Linked DNA regions of Homo sapiens: region 1 is linked to region 2. Evidence: promoter capture Hi-C in 16 types of primary human blood cells and fetal thymus (Javierre and others, 2016). All regions are on one chromosome and are shown on one strand. Each heading gives the region's core, a stretch centred on a gene start or on the middle of the fragment in contact. The rest is flanking DNA. Distances are from core to core; before and after follow the strand shown. Region 1 holds the start of QSOX2 (quiescin sulfhydryl oxidase 2). Region 2 holds the start of BRD3OS (BRD3 opposite strand).

Region 1 (5,362 bases), core at 1,626-4,125, 2.2 Mb before region 2:
GGCAGAAGAAAGAGGCTGACAAGTCCAGTTTCTCAGGAAGAAACATTTAGTAGGGACTTACAAATGGAAGCCACATCTGTGTCTCTGGAGGCACCGACAGACGGGATCCCGCCACCACCCCCAGGCCCAGGGCTTATCTGCCATAGGGGAGGCTGGTTTAGAAGGAACGTGCAGAAACCTGAAGCAGACAGCATCAAGGCTTTGTGCCCTAAGGGTGGGATTTACGGCAAGTACCTGCTCTACACAGGGAACAACAGATCAACTGGAAATCTTGGAGGCCTTCCCGGAATCAGGCTCATCAGGATCCAACACAGCAGATTAGGTCCAAGATGCTGCTGCCTCAGCCTGCACAGTGCCTTATCTCATCATGTCTGAGATGTGATCTCCCCGCATTTTGATCTCTTTGAAGCCAGAGCTGTCTCTGTCAGGGCATCTGAAAATGGCCACTGGCCGCGTGTTTTCTCGCTCCGCGGCACGCACGCTAACCGCGCCTGCAGTCACCTGGCCTTTGCCACAGCGACGTGCGATGCCTCTCCTGCAGGTGGGGTGGGGGGCAGATTTCACGCAGGCTTTGGGCAGGATCTGGCTCAGCACAGACAGCTCTTACGTAGACTCCGAGATTCAATCCTAACCCCTTCCCCTCCCCCGCCCTGCCTTAGATGGGAGAAACTCTGGTTGTTTTGGGGTGTGGCCTCTAAGTGCTGGGCTAAGCTTGGTCCCAGGGGTGGCTCCGTTTCACCGAGCAGGTTTGGGGTGAGGTGTTGCCCCGATGTTCCGAATGTGCCCCTCCAGTTGGGCTCATGACGTCCTCTGTCTCAGCCAGATCAGCCTCCTTTCCTCCACTCCTTGTTCCCCTGCCACCTCGCTGCTGCTCCTTCTGGAGGCCTGGGGCTCAGTGTGTGGCCCTCCCCTCTGTCCCACAGCCTCCCCGGGGGACCTCAAGCAGCCTCAAGCGCTGAGCTCCAGACTCGACTCCCACTTCTAAACCCTGACCTGACACCTCCCTTAGAGGTTGAAAAGGCTGCTCAGATGTAACAGGTCCAAAGCAAACTCATGGCATCCTCCCCAGCATAGCTCTCCCATCTCGCCGCTGCAGGATTTAGTCTCAGCCGTAAGCAACCCCATTCCTCTGGTTGCTTTGGCCCAAACTCTGCGAATGTGACACCCTCTGCCTCCACCCAGACTCAGCCGACCCCTCCACCAGCACTGCCTCTCACCCCTCCCCGGAGTCCCTCCAGCTTGTGGAAGGAGGCGGCGGCCCCTCCCAGGTCCCCTGCTTCCCCTCCTGCCCCTCCTACTCTGCAACTAGAAGGGCAGAGCTGCATCCTTGCACCGATCCTTCCGTGGCCACCCCCCCATTCAGCATCAAAGTCTGAGTCTGCGGCCCAGGTTGTGAGGCCCCCTGGGTCTCGCTCGGGCTCTCAGCTTTTCTTCCCTCCCACGCTTCCCCCAGCTTGCTCCGCTCCCACCAGGTCCGGCTCCTTGCTGTTCCTCCAGCGTGCTCAGCACCCTTCTGCCCCAGGGCCTTTGCATGTGTGCCTCCTCCCTCACCTCCTTCTCCATTCGGGTCACCTTCTCAAAGACCTCCCCACCCTCCTCTGTACGGCAGCCCTGCTGGCACCTGCTTCCGTGTCCGGCTTCATTGCTTTTCATAGCACGCGGTGGCTGCTTTACGCGTTGGTTTGTTTGGGGTCTGCCCAAATGCAGGCCAGGGACACTGGGGGCTCGGTTTTGTTCTTGATTTGTCTCCAGGGCTTGGCACAGAGCAGAAGCCAGGAAACGTGGGTGATGGAAGGAAACATGAACAGGGAGACGCAGGACGTGAGGAAAAGGGAGCAGACGCCTTGGCCAGGGGCCCTCTGGGGAGAATCCTCTCATCTGGGGTTAACCATTGTTAGCAGCAAAACCTTTTAAACAAAATCTTACACAGAACCCCACAATACAGTTATCTATTTATTTTGAGACAAGGTCTCGCTCTGTCATCCAGGCTGGAGTGCAGTGGCAGAGTCACGGCTCACTGCAGCCTCAAGCTCCCAGGCTCAAGCCATCCTCCACCTTAGCCCCTCAAGTAGCTGGGACTACAGGTGTGCACCACCATGCCCGGCTTTTTTCTTTTTTTTAAGAGATGGGCTCTCGCTATGTTGCCCAGGCTCGCCCACTCCCTTGTTTTGTTTTGGTCACACAGTTCAGAGAAAATCTTGACATGTGTAAAAATTAGGAATAGGAACAAAAAAAAAAATCAGGTATCCTGTTCAATGAAGCAAAAAAGTCATATGATTTCATTTCCAAACCGTGAAGCTGCATTCGACTGGAACATCCTAAAAGGTAGCACACAACACATCTGACTTTGAGTGGATGTTTTGCTGCATTTTCTAAGCGTTCCAATATCATATTAAAAAGTCGAGGCTGGCTTGCAGACCCTCTGAAGCCCCAGGTGGGGTTGCCAAGTAAAAGAACCCCGGAATAGTTTTTTACGTCTAAGAATGTCTTGTTAAATTTGTATTTCAGGCATGGCACAGACCTAGGCTGAAAAACCGACTCACTGTTTGTCTGAAATTCACGTTGAACCTGGCGTCGTGCACTTCCATTTGCTAAATGTGGCCACCTGGCCCTGTTCAGGGAAGGGGTTTGGGGAACGCGCGGCGGGGTGGGGCGGGGCCTGGGCGGAGCCTGCCGCGCCTGGGCGGGGAGATGGCGTCATCAGACTCTTGGGGGCGGGGCTGCCACGCATGGGCGGGGGCGGGGGCGGGGAGAGAGGGCGGGGTCAGACGTGAGGGGGCGGGGCGGAACAGAACTGGGCGCGCGGGGGCGGGGCCGGGCGCGCCGGCGCACGTGACGGTGGTTGCCAGGGTGAAAGTTCAGCGCGCCGGCGGCACTTCCAACATGGCGGCGGCCGGGGCGGCGGTGGCGCGCAGCCCGGGAATCGGAGCGGGACCTGCGCTGAGAGCCCGGCGCTCGCCCCCGCCGCGGGCCGCACGGCTGCCGCGGCTGCTAGTGCTGCTAGCGGCGGCGGCGGTGGGGCCGGGCGCGGGCGGTGCGGCGCGGCTGTACCGCGCGGGCGAGGACGCCGTGTGGGTGCTGGACAGCGGCAGCGTGCGCGGGGCCACCGCCAACAGCTCGGCCGCGTGGCTCGTGCAGTTCTACTCGTCGTGGTGTGGCCACTGCATCGGCTACGCGCCCACTTGGCGGGCCCTGGCTGGGGATGTGCGAGGTGAGGCGCGCCCCCGCGCGGGGACCCCCCGACCCCCGGGACCGCGGCCTTCCGGGACCCCTTGCGACCGCCCCAGAAGGCGGGTCCCGGGGCCCCTCCCCCGTATTTCTTTCCTTACCGCAGAGCCAGTCCCTGCCCCACAGAGGCACCCGACTCGGACCAACCCTGGCCTTTCCAGGGGCGGGAGACTAAGCCAGCTGCTCCCCATGTCTCTCCCAGTTAATCCCCGTTAGATCCTGACGAGTTGGGCTGTCTGAAGTCAAAATGAAACCATTCTCCCGCAGCCCTCACCGCACGCTTGGGGATAGGGAAGCCCTCCCGTATCCCAGCTCTCAAAATACCTATGTTTTGAGCCCCAAGAACTTCATTGACCTTCCAGGCCTCCTACCCTACCTGTTTCCTAGCGTCCACACACCCCATCCCCAGTGCCCAGAATTCCTGTTCTCTGAGGATCCCTCATTCCTATTCCACACTCGTAGCCACCCCATTCCCTTTGAACCTTCATCATTAACTTTCTGGTTCGGATCGCTGGCCATATAGTGGGTGCTCAAAGTGAACCCACAACTTAGAAGTCCAAATACTCTGGAGACTTCTCTATAATACCCCAAAACAACCTATAAAGCAATTTTTTTAACTCTACAAAGAATTTCATTGGTGGGCTCCTTGATCACAGATGCACAGCCTTTGAGAAATCTTTCACCAAACTGCTGGTAGTGTTCCGCACTTTATTGTTTAGTGCTTTCATCTGGTCGCACGTTGTTAACCAGTCACGAAGTTACTCGCCTGCTCTACAGGTTAGAGTTGGCGTGGGAGGGGGCATTCACAACACCCTTCCCTTAAAATGGTATTTAAATCACTGAAGTAGGAGGTCCTCCCGACCCAGTGAGGTTTGGCAGGACTTCCTGTGTTGTGCTAACCTCAAATTACATGTTTCAGTGGGCAAGATCTGTAACAAATTGCTACTCTTTCTTCCTGCACCTTTGTTTTTATGCCTTACACCCAATCCTGCTGTATTTTTCTCATCGCAAACAGATTTGTAAAGAAACTTTTTTTCAAGTCTAAGTAGGGCTTTTGTATGTTACTGTAAATGGTTATCTTTAAAATGCATTCTCCTCTTAGAGAGCTGGGGCCTTTTGATTCTAATGGATTCCTCCTCTTTGATCTCATGTTTTCTTATGTCCCTGTTGACCTGACTCAGAACTGAGGTCAGAGACTGGAAGAGATGGACAGAAAAACTGTTCAGTGGGGTTTTTAGACACTGCTTTTAGGAAAACAAACAAGTAATTCAATCACGTAGGGAACCCTTCAGTTCTTGTGTGTTATTCAGTGGCAGAAACAGATATGTTCATTAAAATGCAGGTGGCCCTGGCAGGACTTGGTCACTTTTTTTGTGGGTTTTGGTTTTGATTTTTTTTTTTCAGTTGAGTCGCTGAAGTCTAAAGATCGTACCAGATTCAAATATTGCAAATTCTGTAACCGAAGCAGCACATAGGCAGCCTTGAGAACTGTCCCTGGAGCTCAGAAGGAAGGCCCCTCCTGAGAGCCACACAGTAACGTCCATACCCAGTGGTGTGATGAACTCAACTCAGTAAGCCTCCTTTAGTGAGGCTGACTGTCTTCCCAGTCACGACAGGAAGAACAGGCTTGTGCCTGAGACTGAGACTGGAGGAGGATATGGCTGAAAGTGAAAGACAGCGGTGACCTGACCAGGCAGCAGGGAGAGGGCTTCAGGGAGCCCAGGCAGAGGGTCCTGTTGGCTAAAAAGCCAAACTATAAAATACTGAAAGAGGTTTGTTCTGAGCCAATAAGTGTAGTGGCCATGGCCAGGGGAACAGTGTCAAGAGGTCCTAAGAAAGTGTGCTCTAGGCAGTCACGTTAATTTGATTTTATACATTTTAGGGAGACAGAAGTTATAGGCAGAGAGACATAAATCAGTACATGTAAGGTATAGGAAGGGGTAGGTTTACAGATCATAGGTGGATTCTGACTGGCAATTGATTGAAAGAGTTAAGCTTTGTCTAAAGACTTGAAGTCAGCAAAGAGAAATGCTTGAGTTAAGCTAAAGGGGCTGTGGAGGCCAAGGTTAAGTAGATGAAGCCTCACAGGCAGCAGCCTTGGGGAGAATAGAGGGTAAATGTCTCTTTTCAGACC
Region 2 (5,755 bases), core at 276-2,775:
GAATTACATAATTGTGCAAAACTTGGACTGCCCTGTGTCCCTAGAGACCTCGAGCTTGTTTTTGTCTCGGACCAAGATGGCCTCATTTCCATACTGTGAGTACCACATGCTTCGGCTCCTGCTCAGGTACGTCCCAGGTGGCACCGACTCCAACTTCTGCTGTTGCTGCTGCCAGATGAGCAAGGAGGTGTCCCTGTACCGGAGGCGGGCGTAGCCTTCAGACAAGGCCTTCTCTGCCAGGGGGACACGGCCACTCATCCCCTCCCCCGTCCCGCTGGACTCCTGGGAACCCTGCTGTTCTGAGACGGCCCACGCGCACTAAATTAACGGACAGCTTTCCCAGCTTTGGGGCTTAAGGATCCCTCGTTTAACTGAATGGTAGAAATTAGGAATTCCGCCCATTTGCAGGCAACGTCCTCAGGAGGGTTGTGTGGTGAGGAAATGAGGCGGCCTCACCATTCTGAAGACACCTGAGACCCATTCAGGGGACCGCACACAGGTCAGAGCGGCGCCCGGCCACAGCTCTTCCGGGTGCAGCTGTGTGGAATTGACAGGGACGAGGCGTCACACCCTGGGGGGTGATTCTGCCACCATGGCCTGGACCACTGAGCTTGAAGAGATGGATCCAGTGCCCTGAGGAAGGGACATGGTGGCCCCAGACGCAAGCTGGAAGGAGCTCCGGTGGCACGCCCCGCACGCATCTGTCCGGGCCAGCTTTCAGGGCAACGGCTGTTCTGACCCACCCTGGGGATCCAGCCCCAGCGTTTGTTCAGGTCTCGTCTCTCCCCAAAGGTGCTGCTGCAAAGGAACGAACGTGCTGTCAGGAGAGGGGAAGTCAAGCGCCCCGGCAGCGGCGGCAGTCTGCAGCGCAGCATCAAGTCTCTGGGGGTCAGCGGCCTAGATCGAGCTACTTACGTCCCGTGGGGCAGCCTGGGAGCTGGGTGGAGAGTGAGACGGGCGCCCAGTGCCAGCTTTTTCAGTCACTGGGAGGTGCTGGGGAGGCTGCTTGTTGGGGCTTCAGGGTCTCCATCTGTGAAACAGGAGCCAGCGGCGCTTGAAAGGGCGCGGGTTCCCGGAGACGCCGCCAGGCGTCAGCCCCGGGACCGGAAGGGGCCCCCAGGGCCGCCTTGCTGCTCCGAGCATCCAGCTCCCGTGAGGCCCCTGGACCCAAACAAAAACGATGTCAGGAGAAAACAAACAGGGAAGCATCGCAACCCACTCCCGAACGCCTTCCCAGCTGCGCAGCGTCAGGGACCTCCCCTCCTGGGATGCCTGCGCTAGGTCAGCCTCAGCTTCCCGGGCCCCCATCGCGCGTCCCCGCCACCTGCGCGCACCCTGGGGTCCCCGTCGCGTGGCCCGCGGCCCCCATCCCCGCGCCCCAGACCCCGCGCGCTCTGGGTCGCCCCATCCTCCAGCCCCCTATCGTCTGCCCGCATCCCCGGGTCCCCCACGTCGCCCGCCCCAGTCACCGCTCGTCGCGGGCCTCGGAGATGCGGGCAGCGGCGCGACGCACTGCGGGGCTCCCAGGGCGGGGCCGGCGGCCGCTGGGCCGTGTCTCCATGGCAGCGCCGCAGGCCTGGCGAGCCGAGCGCAGAGGCTGGGCAGGCGTGTGCGACGAGCCCAAGCCATCGATCGCTCCGCGAGGAGGGGCTGGGCCCGCCCCGAATAGGAACTGGAAGAGGAGGAGGAGGGGCTGGAGGAGGAGGGGCTGGAGGAGGAGGGGCTGGAGGAGGAGGAGGGAGGAGGAGGAGGAGCTGGGAGAGGAGGGGCTGGGAGAGGAGAAAGGGCTGGATGAGGAGGAGGGGCTGGAGGAGGAGGAGGGGCTGGGAGAGGAGGAGCTGAACGAGAAGGAGGAGCAGAAGGAGGAGTGGAGGAGAAGGAGGAGCAGGAGGAGGAGCTGGGGGAGGAGGAGGAGCTGAGAGAGGAGGAGGAGATGGAGGAGGAGGGGCTGGATGGTGAGGGGCTGGGAAAGGAGGAGGGGCTGGGAGCGGAGGTGGGAGGAGGGGCTGGCAGAGGAGAAGGGGCTGAGGAGGTACTGGAAAAGAAAGAGGAGCAGGAGCTGGAGGAAGACGTGGAGGAGGAGCTGGAGGAGGATGAAGAGAAGGAGTGGGACGCCCACAACCCTGTTAGTAAGACACTGCCGGACTGTATGGTCTTATCATCTTGGTTTTCGTATTTCTGCTTGTGTGGTTACTTTTGCCACTGCTGTTACTGCTTTTATTAGTATTCTTACTCTCAGTAATTGATACAATTATTTTTAATTAATTAAATGTCCGGGCTTACTATCTCAAAAATAGGTCTTGAATTTCTCCATCTCATCCAACCAAGCCAGGCCTCTATACTGCTCATTTGGACTCCTCAACAGCCCCATGAAAGCAAGGTCTATTTCCTTTTCTCACTCCACCTCCAATCATACTCCAATAGCACTCTTTTAGTATCTACCCTTTTCCCCTAATTTTATGGTTTTCTCCAATGCCAATTAAGAAAACTAGCATAATGGAACCTGGTGTGGTGGCTCACCTCTGAGTCCCACCTACTTGGGAGGCTGAGGCAGGAGGATCCCTTGAGCCAGGAGTTCGAGGCTGCAGTGAGCCATAATCATGCCACTGCACTTCAGCTGGGACGAAACAGCAAAACCCCATCTCTAAAAAAAAAGAAAATAAGCATAACAGACATCCAAGGAAGATGCTTAGTGTGAGCACTAAGCCCACAGCTGTGGAACGCACATTCTTTTTTTTTTTTTTTTTGAAAGGGAATCTCACTCTGTCACCCAGGGTGGAGTGTGGTGGCACGATCTCAGCTCACTGCAACCTCCGCCCCCCAGGTTCAAGCGATTCTCCTGCCTCAGCCTCCTGAGTAGCTGGGACTACAGGCGCCGGCAACCACGCCCAGCTAATTTTTGTATTTTTAGTAGAGACAGGGTTTCACCATATTGGCCAGGCTGGTCTCGAACTCCTGACCTTGTGATCCGCCTGCCTCGCACTTTCTTCACAAGTACCTACACAGGACGTTTAGCAAAACTGATCACATGCTGGACCATAAATCAGTTTCAACAAATTTGAAAACGTTTAAATCTTACATGATCTCCCAGTCTTCCGACCTGGGAAAAGACAGCAACCGAAGTTATACTGCTTTCAAGAGACACAAGAACAGGCCTGTATTCAAAGACCCATTTAACACTTTTACCTCTATCTGGCTGGGTGCGGTTTTCACGCCTGTAATCCCAGCACTTTGGGAGGCCTAGGCGGTCACATCACTTGAGGTCAGGAGTTCGAGACCAGCCTAGCCAACATGATGAAACCCTGTCTCTACCAAAAATATAAAAAATTAGCCCAGTGTGGTGGCAGGCGCCTGTAATCCCAGCTACTCAGGAGGCTGAGGCAGGAGAATCTCTTGAACCCAGGAGGCGGAGGTTGCAGTGAGCTGAGATTGCACCATTGCACTCCAGCTTGGGTGACAGAGTGAGACCCCATCTCAAAAAAAAAAAAAAAAAATTGCCTCTAAGCTAATATAATTTGTTCTATGCCTTGAACTAAATAATTTGAATATTTAGTTACCTGTAAGCTTCCTTTTCCTGTCGTTGTCAAAACCAAATAGGACTTATATTTCTGTTCGAAACATTTACTTATGTTTTGTTTTCCAGAGTCAAAAAGCTGTTTTTCCTTTTAAGCTATTTTATAGCTACAACAATTAAGTAAAAAATGAAGATTACCTCTCTTTTTCTACCTGATATCTCCAGAATCTGAAAATGATTTAAAATCCCATTGGCTCCAATCTGATTTGATATCAAACACCCTCCCTCTAGGCCCAGGGACAATTGCAGAAGAGGTAAACGCATGAGATTGTAAGGGCTGGTTTCGAGGGATAAAATTTGTTCAGACCCTCTGAATCAAAGATGGTTCACAAATACCTAAATAGCTGATAGCTCAATACATAAAACTTAGAGATAAGTCAATTTTGTAACCTCACGTTTTGGATTTTGGTTTTTGCCTCTTATGTTGCACAAAAGGTTGTTTTTTGTTGTTGTTGTTGTTTGTTTTATTTTGATTTTTTTGAGATGGAATCTCGCTCTGTCGCCCAGACCGGAGTACAATGGTGCAATCTCAGCTCACTGCAACCTCCGCCTCCCAGGTTCAAGTGATTCTCCTGCCTCAGCCTCCCGAGTAGCTAGGGTTACAGGCATGTGCCACCATGCCTGGCTCATTTTGTATTTTTAGTGGAGACAGGGTTTCACTATGTTGATCAGGCTGGTCTCAAACTCCTGACCTCGTGATCCACCCGCCTCAGACTCCCAAAGTGCTAGGATTACAGGCATAAGCCACCGCACCTGGCTGCACAAAAGGTTTTTAAGGGTGAATGAGTGCCTGCCCATCTCCTTTCCTATCTGTCCTAAAACATTTAATTAGCTGTCTTTCAGTCTTTTGGCTCTAAGTCTCTTGGCCATAGGGATCCCACCAAGGGACAAGATGGACCCAGTGCAGGTAGCACACAGCCCCAGCAACGATATAGGACAAAATAAAAGTTTGGTCATCAATGCCATCTCTGGCAAATCTTGGCCAAAAGAAGGGAATATAAACTAAAAATAAAATCCTAAACTCCTCACTGACTGAACGGATCCCCTCTTGGCCAAGGGGACCTCAGAAAAAACTTAAAACTGAGTTCCCAGCCACGATGGGATAGGAGAGCCCACTCATGTCGTTATAACTCCTCCCTTTGGTGACTTAGAGACAAGGCACTAGCATTTGCGTTAAAATATGTAAGACTGAAAACATAGAAGACTGAAAAACAGACTCTTTATGGCGATAACATACCAAATTATAAATAAGACCTGTGGCTGGGCATGGTGACTCACATCTGTAATCCCAGCACTTTGAGAGTCCAAGGCGGGCAGATCACTTGAGGCTGAGAGTTCGAGACCAGCCTGGCCAACATGGTGAACCCCCATCTCTACAAAAAATACAAAAATTAGCTGGACATAGTGGCGCATGCCTGTAATCCCAGCTACTTGGGAGGCTGAGGCAGGAAAACCACTTGAACCCAGGAGGTGGAGGTTGCAGTGAGCCAAGATGGCACAACTGCACTCCAGTCTGGGTGACAAAGTGAGACTCTGATTCCAAAAATAAATAAATTAATTAATTAATAAGATTTAGGGCCATGCCAGGCACAAGTTAAGTCCTACACCTCTACAATTAAAGAATAAACTCTATTCTCACTGCCACGAGGTTGTTCCTTTTCTCTAGCAGCTAAGTAAGTACTGACCTCAAGATAAACAATGTTAAAACGATTTGCAGCTCATCCAGCTCCAGATGCTAACTGACCCCATTCACCCACCATAACTAGCTTTCTCTTCTTTTGAAACAGCGTCTCACTCTGTCCTCCAGGCTAGAGTGCAGTGGTGCAATCCTGGCTGAGTGCAGCTTCAACCTCCCAGCCTCAAGCAATCCTCCCACCTCAGCCTCCCAAGTAGCTGGGCCTACAGGTGTGCACCACTAGGTGTACCAGTAGGTCCACCCGGGAGGTGGAGTTTGCACCCAGCTACTTTTTGTATTTTTGGTAGAGATGGGGTTTTGCCATGTTGCCTAGGCTGATCTCAAATTCCTGGGCTTAAACAATCCTCCCATCGTGGCCTCCCAAAGTGCTGGGACTACAGGTGTGAGCCACTATGCCCAGCCAACTACAGCTTTCATTGAACAAGAGACTGATTTCAGCAACTTTCTCCAGGTAAGACCACTGACTATGGATTGGTTCCGGCTGG

What was found. The method cuts DNA at HindIII sites, captures the fragments that hold promoters and counts their contacts. A CHiCAGO score of 5 or more calls a contact.
Region 1: a contact is called between the fragment with the promoter of QSOX2 here and the fragment with the promoter of BRD3OS in region 2, in 2 of 17 cell types (neutrophils and monocytes). The highest score is 6.9, in neutrophils.

What each region holds. Positions count from the first base shown.
Region 1 is chr9:136,243,325-136,248,686 of GRCh38, reverse strand. It overlaps QSOX2 (quiescin sulfhydryl oxidase 2), which reads left to right and starts at 2,875. Exons shown (of 12, transcript NM_181701.4): 1 at 2,875-3,211. The coding sequence starts at 2,884. RefSeq lists an enhancer at 1-840 and silencers at 2,638-2,907, 2,938-3,347. The HindIII fragment of the contact is 4,512 bases long and covers 714-5,225 here.
Region 2 is chr9:134,021,251-134,027,005 of GRCh38, reverse strand. It overlaps BRD3OS (BRD3 opposite strand), which reads right to left and starts at 1,525. Exons shown (of 3, transcript NM_001355256.2): 1 at 1,470-1,525; 2 at 916-1,161; 3 at 1-798. The coding sequence starts at 258. The coding sequence ends at 4. RefSeq lists silencers at 1,232-1,651, 1,962-2,091. The HindIII fragment of the contact is 9,456 bases long and covers 1-3,566 here.